3 separate regions of the Homo sapiens genome follow, and regions 1 and 2 are each linked to region 3. Evidence: promoter capture Hi-C in human tissues and cell types (Jung and others, 2019). All regions are on one chromosome and are shown on one strand. The core of a region is centred on a gene start or on the middle of the fragment in contact, and the rest is flanking DNA. Distances in the headings are between cores, read along the strand shown. Region 1 overlaps LINC03090 (long intergenic non-protein coding RNA 3090). Region 2 overlaps RIMS2 (regulating synaptic membrane exocytosis 2). Region 3 holds the start of UBR5 (ubiquitin protein ligase E3 component n-recognin 5).

Region 1 (4,054 bases), core at 1,052-3,551, 1.3 Mb before region 3:
AGCTAGCAAGGGGGCTGCAGACCCCAAACATCGCATTCTCATGCAACAACCATAGGCAGAGAAAGGTGCTGTTTATTCACCTGTGTCTCTTCTTACCAGGTATTAAAGAAACACCTTGTGCTAAAGGCCTCCAGTGGAATTCCCCTTGTGTTTCATTATGGGAAAGGGGGAATGGGAGCACCAGGATTCACTTGGGTCCATGGGGCATTGTGAAAATGTGAAGGGGGTCATTTTTGGCTGGCACAATAATTCAAGGAGGGCTATGACCATGCAGTGGGCAGAGGCTAGAGATGGTAGACAACCTGCGATGTGTGGGATGGTCATGGTCACACTCTGTGACCTGCATGATTTTTGAATGTCCCATTGAACATTTGCACAAATGAAAAATCTTCAAAGTGATCTGAGCTAAAACCAAACTCTCATATATAAACCCAAAGTATTTAAAAAACACACTGTATTTTCCAGGAAAGCAATTGCTGTGCACATCGAGAGAAGATCTTGCTTTGTTTTGTTTAGAACTTTTCCAGGAGTTGTTCACTGTTTTGGAAAATCACATTAGCAATGTCAACATTACTCATGGAATTCGAGCCTCCAGTACAATACACCCGATGGGCCTGCCCCAGTGGCTGCCACATTGACTGTGATTCTAGGTATGGATCCAGGCACCTGCAATGTTATTTCTTTTAGCACAGTTCTGCCAAGAATTTGCATGTTGAAATACATGTTGTTTTATTGTACATTATTTCTCTTTTAATTCCACTTCATAATAGTTATTTGATTTTTAAAATTATGTGTACAGATAGTTTATGTTGTATACAAATTTCATTTCAGTGTAGTAAAAGGGACATTATAAAATATTTGTAGGGCTGGGTGCAGTGGCTCATGCCTATAATCCCAACATTTTGGGAGGCTGAGGTGGTAGGATTACTTGAGCCCAGGAGTTCAAGACTAGCCTCGGCGACATAGAAAAAACCCTGTCCTTACAAAAAATTAAAAAAAGAAAATTAGCTGAGCCTGGCGGTGTGTGCCTATAGTCCCAGCTACTCAGGAGGCTGAGCTGGGAGGATCATTTGAGCCCAGGAGTTTGAGGCAAAAAAATATAAAAATATTTGTGATAAAAAGAGGGTACTGGGTCCAACAGGGAGGAGATCCACTGTTTGGACCAGTAAAGATTCATCTCCTGGGTCCTCAGATGGGACGCACCTCCCTGAAGCCTCTACCTAGGCCGAGGAGGATAAGTACCAGGAGAGGCAGGGTTCTTTGGGGAAGCAAGAAGTAAGAATTGGCCAGGGGGTAGCAAGAACATTGTCTGCTCCAGGCAGGTTCTATTCAGCGCCATCCAGGAGCTACCTGGATTCAGTAGCTGCAGCTTTCCAGGCAGGAGAGAGGAGTTTGTTGTTGAGAAAGACACGAATCATCAGGTCCACCATGGCCTGGATAAAATGCCATTGACTGAATCCACCTTCCTTGCTTTTTATTCTAGCTCCACAGAACAGTCTTCTGATTACTAATGTGGCATCCTGGCTACAATTTTTTTTTTTTTTTTGAGACAGAGTCTTGCTCTGCTGCCCAGGCTGGAGTGCAGTGGTGCAATCTCGGCTCACTGCAACCTCTGCCTCCCGGGTTCAAGATATTTTCCTGTCTCAGCCTCCCAAGTAGCTGAGAGTACAGGTGTGTGCCACCACACCCAGCTAATTTTTGTATTTGTTGTAGAGACAGGGTTTCACCATGCTGGCCAGGCTGGTCTCGAACTCCTGACCTGAAGTGATTTGCCAACCTTGGTCTCCCAAAGTGCTGGGATTACAGGTATGAGCCACTGCACCTGGCCCTGGCTGCTTTGATACTAGGAAGAATTAGCCAGGTGGCTCCCAATGCTGGTCATTAATGTTCTGATCCCTGAGAAGGGGCATTCTCAGTTGTGAACAGATGTACTGGTGCTCTGATCAATTCTTTATTCTCTGTGGATCTGGTTAAGTCAGTAGCTCAGAACTGACCTATTCTGGGTGTCCTGACAAAGTGGAGTTCTGGGACTTGCAAAGCTGAAGTAGAAAAAGACCACCTCCAGGTGCTGCCACCAGAAAAGGCCCTTCCTGGGTAACTGCTGGCTTCCCTGGATGGCAGGGGCTTTCAAACTTCTGGCTGTGTAACCTCCGAAAAGAAAATGAAATGTCATACAAATGCCCACTCTGCAGAGCCAGTTAAAGGGGAGCCGTGCTACCTGGGGGCTGGGGATGGGAGGCCGGGAGACAGCTCCCATGCATCCTGAAAGCCTCTCCCTGTGGTGGGCGCGGGCTTCTTGAAGATGGACAGGCTCTGACCGCTTTTGTCCTCTCTCTGAGTCACAGGATGAAGTCTTGGCCTCTGCCATCTCCCAGTTCCTCCCTGGGGGTGATAGAGGGAGCCACCCACACAGAAGCTCCTACCCAGGGACTTGATTCCTCTCAGTGCCACGCCTGGGGGTGCACCCAGGTGGGGCCCCTGTATTCACTGCGGCGGTAGAAGGGCTGTGAGCAGGCTTTCCTGGTTAGGCTCTGTATTAGTCCGTGTGCGTTGCTTTAAAAGAATGCCTGAGACTGGGTAATTTATAAAGAAAGGAGGCTTATTTGGCTCGTGGTTCTGCAGGCTGTGCACAAAGCATAGGCCCAGCACCTGCTTCTTTCTGGTGAGGCCTCAGGAAGTTTCCAATCATGGCAGAAGGCAAAGGGGAGCCAGAGTATTACGTGGAGAGACTGAAAGCAAGAGAGGGAGGAGGTGCCAGGCTCTTCTTAAACAACCAGATCTCCTGTGAACTCAGAGTGAGTGCTCACTCATCATCATGAGGACAGCACTAAGATATTCATAAGGGTTATGCCCCCGCAACCCTAACACCTCCCACTAGGCCCACCTCCACCGCTGGAGGTCACATTCCAACATGAGATTTGGAGGGGACAAACATCCAAACCATATCAGGCTCTTTCCTAATCATTTTTCTTTTGCATCTTAAAAGTGAAGAGGAAAGAAGTCAGGCTAAGCCACAGTTAAATGGTCCATGGGGGAACAGTTAAAGCAAGCATCAAAATATTAAAGACATAAAGAGCTTTCACTAATACCAGGTCATCAGTAGGTCAGGCCACCGGCTTTCCACCCTTCATAAAAAAGGGAGGGGGCGATTTCCTGTCCAGTTCTGAAGGGAGCATGCATGGAGAATGCTGGAAAACCAGGCCTCTTAAGCTCAGAAACAGTCTGTGGCCCCAGCAAGCCCCAGGGCCCGGGACCCCAAATGCAGAAGAAATGCCTAGTAGCCACAGGGCCCAGAGGGGTGTGCAGTACTGGGAGACAGAGATGGCACTAATTCCCAGGACAGTGGCGGCCACCAGGGCATGCCCAGGAGCTCAGGGGTCTTGGTGGTACCCGGGAAGCTCCTTCCCTCACCCAGCAAGCAGCTGAGGCTGCGGAGACCAGGTACCTGCTCAAGAACATTCATCTGACAAATACTCATTATTGAGTGCCTACGGTATGCTGAGCTGTTCCAAGTGCTCTAGATGGGGCTGGCTGTGATCAAAACAGAAAGCCCTGCCCTGAAGGACTGGGTAGACCTCAGAAATACCTCTTATAAGTGTGAGAGTTTGCTTTATGCTTTTCTGTGTATAAATGGGCTTGCATTGCTTTGAAAATTAGGAAAAAGGTTATTAAAGAATGTTATTAGAAATTGTTTTTGAATAAATATCCACGAGGAAATAGAAACATGATAAGGAAATACCAGCTAATTACACATCCGCAAGTGCAGTGGACTCTGTACTCTGATGAGGCCTCAGGAGGTGTGGTCAGAGAATCAACACCAGATGGTCCTAGAAGAACTGATTGTGAACTGTTATTGTCAAAGAAATCATCATAGGAGAACTGTAACTGTTGGTCAATCTGCTGATGTTTTATTCATGCACTTCATTATTCAGTCAAGAAACTTTTTTTGTATTAGATTCTGAGAACATAGAGATGGGCAAATTACCATCCTGCCCTCTAGGACCCCACATTTCTGTTGCAGGGCAGAAATGTTAATGGTTACAAACAGCAGAAT
Region 2 (3,458 bases), core at 388-2,887, 1.1 Mb after region 3:
GCAAACCCACTAAATCAATAGAAAAGTATTCAGTAAATACTGAGTTTCTAATATGTACATATCATAGCCTTTCAGATAAGCTTTTTGTAACACAAATTAGAAATTATGTGTTTCTTGATGTGTATATTTTCATTCATAGTTTAGATTTTCTGTTAAAGGGTTAATTTGCTTCCCAAATAAAGGAAGGCAATAAGTAAAAATTTTCCTGATAGGTTAGGATAACAATTAGTATATATTTAGCACATATATAGTGAGCAGTTCTCTATTTTTTAAAATAATTCAATTTTAAAAGTATTTTCTAAAGTTAATTTATAAAATTTTGAAATAAAATCTTTTTTTTTCTTTCTTTTCTTTTCTTTCTTTCTTTTTTTTTTTTTTTTTTTGAGATAGGGTCTTTCTTGGTTTGAGGCCCAGGCTGGAGTGAGATGGCGAAATAACGGCTCACTGCAGCCACGACCTCCTGGGCTCAAGCGATTCTCTCACCTCAGCCTCTGGAGTAACTGGGACCACAGGCAGGTGTCATGACACTCGACTAATTTATTTTTTATTCTTGTAGAGATGAGGTCTCCCTATGTTGCCCAGGCTGGTCTTGAACTCCTGGGCTCAAGTGATCCTCCTGCCTTGGCCTCTCAAAGTGTTGGGATTACAGGTGTGAGCAACCCGCAGCCCCCAAATTTCTTAGCTACCTATTTCCCCTACCCAGAGCCAACTACTGTTACTAGTATATTTTATATTGTATACTCTTCTAGAGACAGTCTATGCATAAGAATAAATACATGTGTATATATAATATTGTGTGTGTCTGTATATGTGTGTATGTGTGTGCTCATACATGTATGTATGGATGGATGTAAACGTAAAAACAGAAATGTGTCCTGCAGTTTGCTTTATAAGAGGTCAGTTCCACATCTGTGACTGTATAGCTGCCTCGTTAACCTTAATGGATATAGGATATATACTATCCCTTTTAATGAATATTCTGTAATTTCTTTAACTAGTACCATATTTGTGGGTATTTAAGTTTTTTTCTAAGTATTTTGTCATTAGAAATTTTTAGTATTTATCACAGTATTATCTGTGATAAATATCTTCGTACATGCATTTCCTACATGTATGAATGTATATTTGAGACAGATTCCTAGAAACAAAGTTGTTGGGCCAAAGGGTTAGTATATTTTAAATTTAATAAATATTGTGAAATTTACTTTTGTAGAGGAAGTGTGTATAAGTGGTGTGTACTAAGGGGACTTTCCCACATCCTCGCCAACTCAGTGTATGGCAATCTTTACCAATGTTTCAATGAAAAAGATGCCACTGTAGACTTATTTGCAATTTTCTTGTCAGAAAGATTGAGAGCCTTTTTAAAAAAATTTGGTTACAGCCATTTGTATTCCCTTTTCTATTAGTAATTTTTAGTGATTTGTGGAGGCTCTCTTACATGTTATTTGTTTTAGGACCTTGTTTATGCCTTTTTTACTGGTCACGATTTAAAAAAATTGAATTTATTGTAGTTTTGTTTTATGGATTTTGAGTTTGTGATCTTCTTAGAATGATCTTCCCTATTCTAGTATTTTTAAAAAGTACCAATTGAATCATGAATACTTTTAAATAAAAATTGCATATGTAAACCACTGTTGCCATTGCCAAAAAAATGAAAAACTATAGTTTTTAAGGATTCAAAATGCATTCTAAAAAATTGATTGACATTTTATAAGAAAACAAGCAAACAAAAAATTGACTTATATTTTATGAAAGAGTACCCAATAAATTTATATATATTCTATTTTGAAATAAGGGCAATTAAATAATATCTTCCTCTTGACAATAGATTTTGATAAAGAACTAATTATATTGTGCGATGAAGAAAGAGATAGTGGAAGCAAGTGTGATAAACCAGATGAACTTTGACTTGACACCTTACTTTACTAATTAATAATGGTAACGTTTTGCTTATATTATTAAACTCTGAGTTTCCTCATCTATACTATTTGAGTAATAACACCTATTTTGAAGGATTGTGATTGTTATTATTAAACTCTGAGTTTCCTCATCTATACTATTTGAGTAATAACACCTATTTTGAAGGATTGTGATTGTTATAGACTAAGTATCCTGGCATAAGTAGTGGTGCAATAAATAATCATTATTGTTAACTGACATAGATAGCACTCTTTAAACCTTATCATAGGATTGCTGGGTGAAATTTTCTTATTTTCTAAAAATTGAGAGATTCTTTTCCTTGTCTATTATGAAGTCAAAATATGCCAGGAGGGCTTTTAAGCGACTTCATTATTTGTTTAGAAGACTAGGGATGGGGAGAGGGTGGGTGACAACTTGAAAATAGTTTCCTCAGCAAATACCATTCTTAAGGAGCCTGATAACTAAGACATAGCAGTGAAAATAGCACTGACATCAAGTTATTGGTAATCGGCAAGATACTGATAGTCAAAGGTGAATTGAGGGGACTTACTTGTGGAAACTACTTTGTAATTGACTTTAGATTTGCCTTGGTTAAACTTTTTACTCTATTATTTAACTAAAATCTATATTTACCTATTTGTCTTATTCACATTGTATCTAAGAACCCAGAGAACCGTATTAGGTTAAGCTAATTCTGAAGTATGGTTATTGAGCTTAGAATGCTGATCTTCACATCGCCCCTCAAATACACTTAAGCTTTGTATGATTGCCGGTTTCTCATCCTTCTGGCTTAGCTTCAAATTTGGATCTTTAGAGAGCTCTTTTCTGACCACTCTTTCTTATGTAGATTCTCTCCATTATTCTTTATAACAATACCTTTTATATTTCCCCAATTATGCTTATCAAAATTTATAATGATTTATTTACTTGTTTATGGTCTGTCCACTCTGCTAGATTATCAACTCAAAGAGAGCACACACCATGTCTGTTTTGTTCACTAATGCAGCTTCAACTTCTAATGTAATACAATGCCTTACACATAGTAGTACTCAAAAATATTAATCGGGTGAATGAACGCACATTGGGAATGAAATATTATGTTCATCTAGGTGGTACAAACTTTCAAGGTGAACTCCAATAATCTTAAAAAAAGATTTGCTTATGTAGTAGTGTCCTTATTTTTGAAATCAAATGTAATTTTTAAACATGCCTAATTTTGCTTATTTTACATGGAAGGAAACTTACAGTGTTTGTGTATGATTGCAGCTTATCTTTCTTTTGGACTAAGAGCATATCTTTTTTGACTAGAAACTAGAAGAACATTGTGATAGATATCATTTTTAAATTTAAGGAATATTAGGAATTAGGGAAAATTTGGCTGTAAAAGTGATCCTTTAAGAGAATTGATACATTTCCATTGTGTTTAGCACAGATGAGTGATAAAGAGTACACAGAAGGCTTTGGATAGAAATAGTTCATGCCCTCCAGGGACAGATAATCTAAGGCCAACCATAATCATATGAACACATAAAAATGTA
Region 3 (3,955 bases), core at 162-2,661:
TTCCTTTGACACTCTACGCACGGTTTTCAGCTGTCAAATTACAACTCAGGAAAACACTATCATTAGAATAGAAAAGGAAACAAAAAAGCTCGCACCACAGGGGCTAGTAGCAGGAGCTGCCAGCACCATTTCAGGAGGAGAGTAAAGGGAATCCAATGCACTTCCCCACCCCCGCTTGAATCCATCCCCTCCCGGGGCAGGCAAACCTCACTGCAGGGGCTCAAATTTAATAATAATAACAATAATCATGGCGCTTCCTCCCTCACTCCCTCCCCCAACTATCACCTTCCCCCCACCCCCCGCCCGCTCCCAGCAATCTGCCGGGAATCGGCTTCTCTCCCCAACCCGACCCCGGGATCCCCAGGTCCAGACCACCCCACCGGACACAGCTGCCGGGGGCCCGGGACAAGCCCAGCCCAGCCCACCCCGGGGCCCCTGGCCCCGCTTCTCCTCTTCCCTCTCTTTTTACCTCCACCATCCCCCATCCGCATTGTCTGTCTCAATTCAACTTTGACTAATATGGATTCCTCGGGCCTTGGCCGGGCAGTAATTACCGCCTGCCCCCCGGGAGCCAGAAACCACCCCCCCATCTCCGCCGAGTTCAACGCCGCTCCTTGCGGGAGGGGGAAGGGGGTTTACAGAGCGCTCTCCAGTCTACACCGCGAGTCCCGTCTACACCGCGCTCCCCCCGCGGCCCCCTGCCCCCGGGATGAGAAGTTTGCCCCGGAAGGAGCCTAGCAGGAGGCAGTAAGGACCCCCGCACCCCACCCCAGCTGGCCGGCCGGCGCGTAAACACCCGCACCCGCCCGGCACGGCCCGTGGGGGAGGGGAGGGAGGGAAGGGCGCCCCTCCCCCCGCGCCCGCCGACCCGCCAGCCCTATTACCTGTCATTGAGCTGGTCCTCGGTGCCCGGCAGCGGGTGAACCACGAAATGGATGGACGTCATGGTGCTTTCCTTCTCGTCCTCCACTCGAGGGCGGCCCCCTCCCGCTCTCGCCCGCCCCCCAGCCCTCTACCCCTCCCCAAAACCCACAGCCGCCGCCGCCTCCCAGTCCCCAAATGGAGGGAAGCAAATACGCAGGGGCCGCCGCCGCCTCCCTGCCGGGCGTGTGTCCGCGGCCCGGAGGGGCGGGCAGGAGGGCGAATCCACACGCCACCCGCTCCCCCGGCGACAGCGCGGAGTGCGAGGCAGGCGGCCGGGACCAGGGGCGCGCCGCCGGCCAGCGGCAGACGGGCGTTGGGAGAGGGGCGGCCGGGGGAGGAGAGGGGCGGCTGCTGGCTGCGGGCTACGGGGACGGTCTGGTCCCGGCGGCGGACGGGGTCCGGACTAGGGGAGGTGAGGAAGGAGGGGAAGGAGATGAGCCCGCACCGCGCGTCACTAGCGAGAAGCTGCCGCCGCCATCTTCACTTCTGCCCCAGTTTCTCCGTCTCGCAGGCTCCGCTCCGGAGCGGCGGGGGAGGGGCAAACGGGAGGAGGAGGAGGGAGGAGACCGGCGGGCGGGGGCGCGGCGGCGAGAGGCGGGGCTCCGGGAAACGGGCGGCAAGGCCCCCTCGATTGGGCTGCTCAACGTTGTCGGGCCACGACGCTGTAAGGCGCGTGCCGATTGGTCCGTTCGGCTCCCGAGCCCAGCCCCGCCGGGGGTGGGATGTCTCCAGAGTGAGTGTTCCGGAGAGCACGTGTTAGGGAAGGAGGAGGCTGCGGGCTAACCTGCCGGGAGGGAGGGTAAGTGTGTGTCCCAGAGGAGGCGAGGAGGAAGAGGGGCTCTTGTGTTCTTTCGCTCGGATTCCCCTGGGGCAGCCCTAATTATTTGGCGGATCCTTAGGGGTTTCTTGTTGCTTCTCATCCTTCATCCGCAGTTGTATTTATGGTGAAGTTGGTAAAATCAGTTAAGGGGCAAGACATATACAGCCTTTTATTGGAAAAGTAAGGAAATTATGTAAGGGCCTTTCCAGAAGGAGATAGTAGGATCCTGGAGTTGGCTTTGCAGCAACTTCTATTACCTCGGTCTCCCCAGTTTCCTCACCACCATCACATGCCCAAAGACAAAATGTGGAAATTTCCACTAATTTCCTGATATAAATGATTCGTGATTTTTTATTACTTTTAAATGAAAGATGATAAACCTGTTCTACAAAGGAGTTCAATTTATGATCAGTGGAATCAGAACGGAAAATTATTATTTTTTTTTTTTTTTTCCCCGAGACGGAGTTTCGCTCTTGTTGCCCAGGCTGGAGTGCAATGGCGCGGTCTCGGCTCACCTCAACCTCCGCCTCCCGGGTTCAAGCGATTTTCCTGTCTCAGTCTATGGAGTAGCTGGGATTACAGGCATGTGTCACCACGTCCGGCTAATTTTGTATTTCTTTTTTAGTAGAGATGTGGTTTCACCATGTTGGCCAGGCTGGTCTCGAACTCCTGACCTCAGGTGATCCACCCGCCTCGGCCTCCCAAAGTGCTGGGATTACAGGCCTGAGCCACCACGCCTGGCCGAGATAGGATCTTTTATACCGAGTTTCTACTATAAGACACTTTCAGAGTTTTGGCCACGGCGCACAGTGGCTCACGCCTGTAATCCCAGCACTTTGGAAGGCCGAGGATGTCGGATCACCTGAGGTTGGGAGTTCGAGACCAGCCTAGCCAACTTGGTGAAACCCCATCTCTACTAAAAATGCAAAAATTAGCCAGGCATGGCTGTGCGCGCCTGTAAACCCCACTACTCAGGAAGCTGAGGCAGAAGACTTGCTTGAACCTGGCAAGTTGCAGTGAGCTGAGATCATGCCACTGCACTCCAGCCCGGGCAACAGAACGAGACTCCATCTCAAAAAAAAATTTTTTTTAATCAAATAAGTCTGTTTTTTTTTCCCTAAGGAACCAATTCATGACTTTCTTCTCAAAGGTTTCTATGACCTCCTTTAAAAAATAAAGTACCTCTTCGAAGGCAAAAACTGAGAACATGACATTCCTTCTACAGAGGTGGTCTGTTAATGAATTACACACACACACACACAGTTTTGCTTAGGAAGTTCTTCTGAGCAAAATTTATGAAAAAATACTTACAAATCAGGACAGACCTGGTACCCTCAAGGCAGATAATGGAACACTTTTGTAGGTTACCAGCTCAACCATTGGCCCAGATTAGTTTAGACTAAAAAGTGATTTCAAGGTCACTATTAGATGTCCCTGGGAGCCCTGAGGAAGGAAGGTAGACCAGTAGACACTGCTAGATTTCAAGCCAAACAGATCTAAAAAAAATTTTTTTTTTTTGAGACGGAGTCTTTGCTCTGTCGCCCAGGCTGGAGTGCAATGGCACGATCTTGGCTCACTGCCACCTCCGCCTCCTGGGTTCAAGTGATTCTCCTGCCTCAGCCTCCCGAGTAGCTGGGATTACAGGCGCTGCCACCATGCCTGGGTAATTTTTGTATTTTTAGTAGAGACAAGGTTTCACCATGTTGGCCAGGTTGGTCTCGAACTCCTGACCTCAGGTGATCCACCCACCTCGGCCTCCCAAAGTGTTGGGATTACAGGCGTGAGCCACTGCGCCCAGCCCAGATCTAAATTTCAGTTGTTTCTGCTACTTAACTACGTGGCCTTACTTGGATTTAGATTAGTTAGATTTGGCCGGGTGCACTGGCTCACGCCCATAATCCCAGCACTTTGGGAGGCCGAGGTGGGTGGATCACCTGAGGTCAGGAGTTTGAGACCAGCCTGGCCAACATGGTGAAACCCTGTCTCTACTAAAAATACAAAAATTAGCCAGGAGTGTTGGTGTGGCTGTAGTCCCAGCTACTCCAGAGGCTGAGGCAGGAGAATTGCTTGCTCGAACCCGGGAGGTGGAGGTTGCAGTGAGCCAAGATTGTGCCACTGCACTCCAGCCTGGGCGACAGAATGAGAATCTGTCTTAAAAAAAAATTAGTTAGATTTAACCTATCATTGCATCTTTTTTCCTCATTTGTTAAA

Evidence for each region. The method cuts DNA at HindIII sites, captures the fragments that hold promoters and counts their contacts. A contact is called where the count stands out against the background at its distance.
Region 1: a fragment that was not itself captured here is called in contact with the fragment with the promoter of UBR5 in region 3 in 1 of the 25 tissues and cell types used here (dorsolateral prefrontal cortex).
Region 2: a contact is called between a fragment that was not itself captured here and the fragment with the promoter of UBR5 in region 3, in 1 of the 25 tissues and cell types used here (heart left ventricle).

What each region holds. Positions count from the first base shown.
Region 1 is chr8:101,140,195-101,144,248 of GRCh38, forward strand. LINC03090 (long intergenic non-protein coding RNA 3090) reads left to right here. Exons shown (of 7, transcript XR_928462.3): 7 at 1-129. It overlaps LOC105375676 (a long non-coding RNA gene), which reads right to left. Exons shown (of 3, transcript XR_928465.4): 3 at 3,887-4,054. Among named protein-coding and RNA genes, the nearest start is that of LINC03090, 14 kb to the left of the region's middle. The HindIII fragment of the contact is 5,741 bases long and covers 1-4,054 here.
Region 2 is chr8:103,504,483-103,507,940 of GRCh38, forward strand. The region is part of intron 1 of RIMS2 (regulating synaptic membrane exocytosis 2); the gene reads left to right. Among named protein-coding and RNA genes, the nearest start is that of RIMS2, 5.6 kb to the left of the region's middle. The HindIII fragment of the contact is 5,012 bases long and covers 1-3,458 here.
Region 3 is chr8:102,411,289-102,415,243 of GRCh38, forward strand. It overlaps UBR5 (ubiquitin protein ligase E3 component n-recognin 5), which reads right to left and starts at 1,412. Exons shown (of 59, transcript NM_015902.6): 1 at 885-1,412. The coding sequence starts at 946. It overlaps LOC105375683 (a long non-coding RNA gene), which reads left to right and starts at 1,051. Exons shown (of 5, transcript NR_168428.1): 1 at 1,051-1,723. RefSeq lists enhancers at 1-582, 26-105, 583-1,361, 1,736-2,005, 2,567-2,676 and 1 more and silencers at 776-1,215, 1,276-1,355, 1,386-1,585. The HindIII fragment of the contact is 18,623 bases long and covers 1-3,955 here.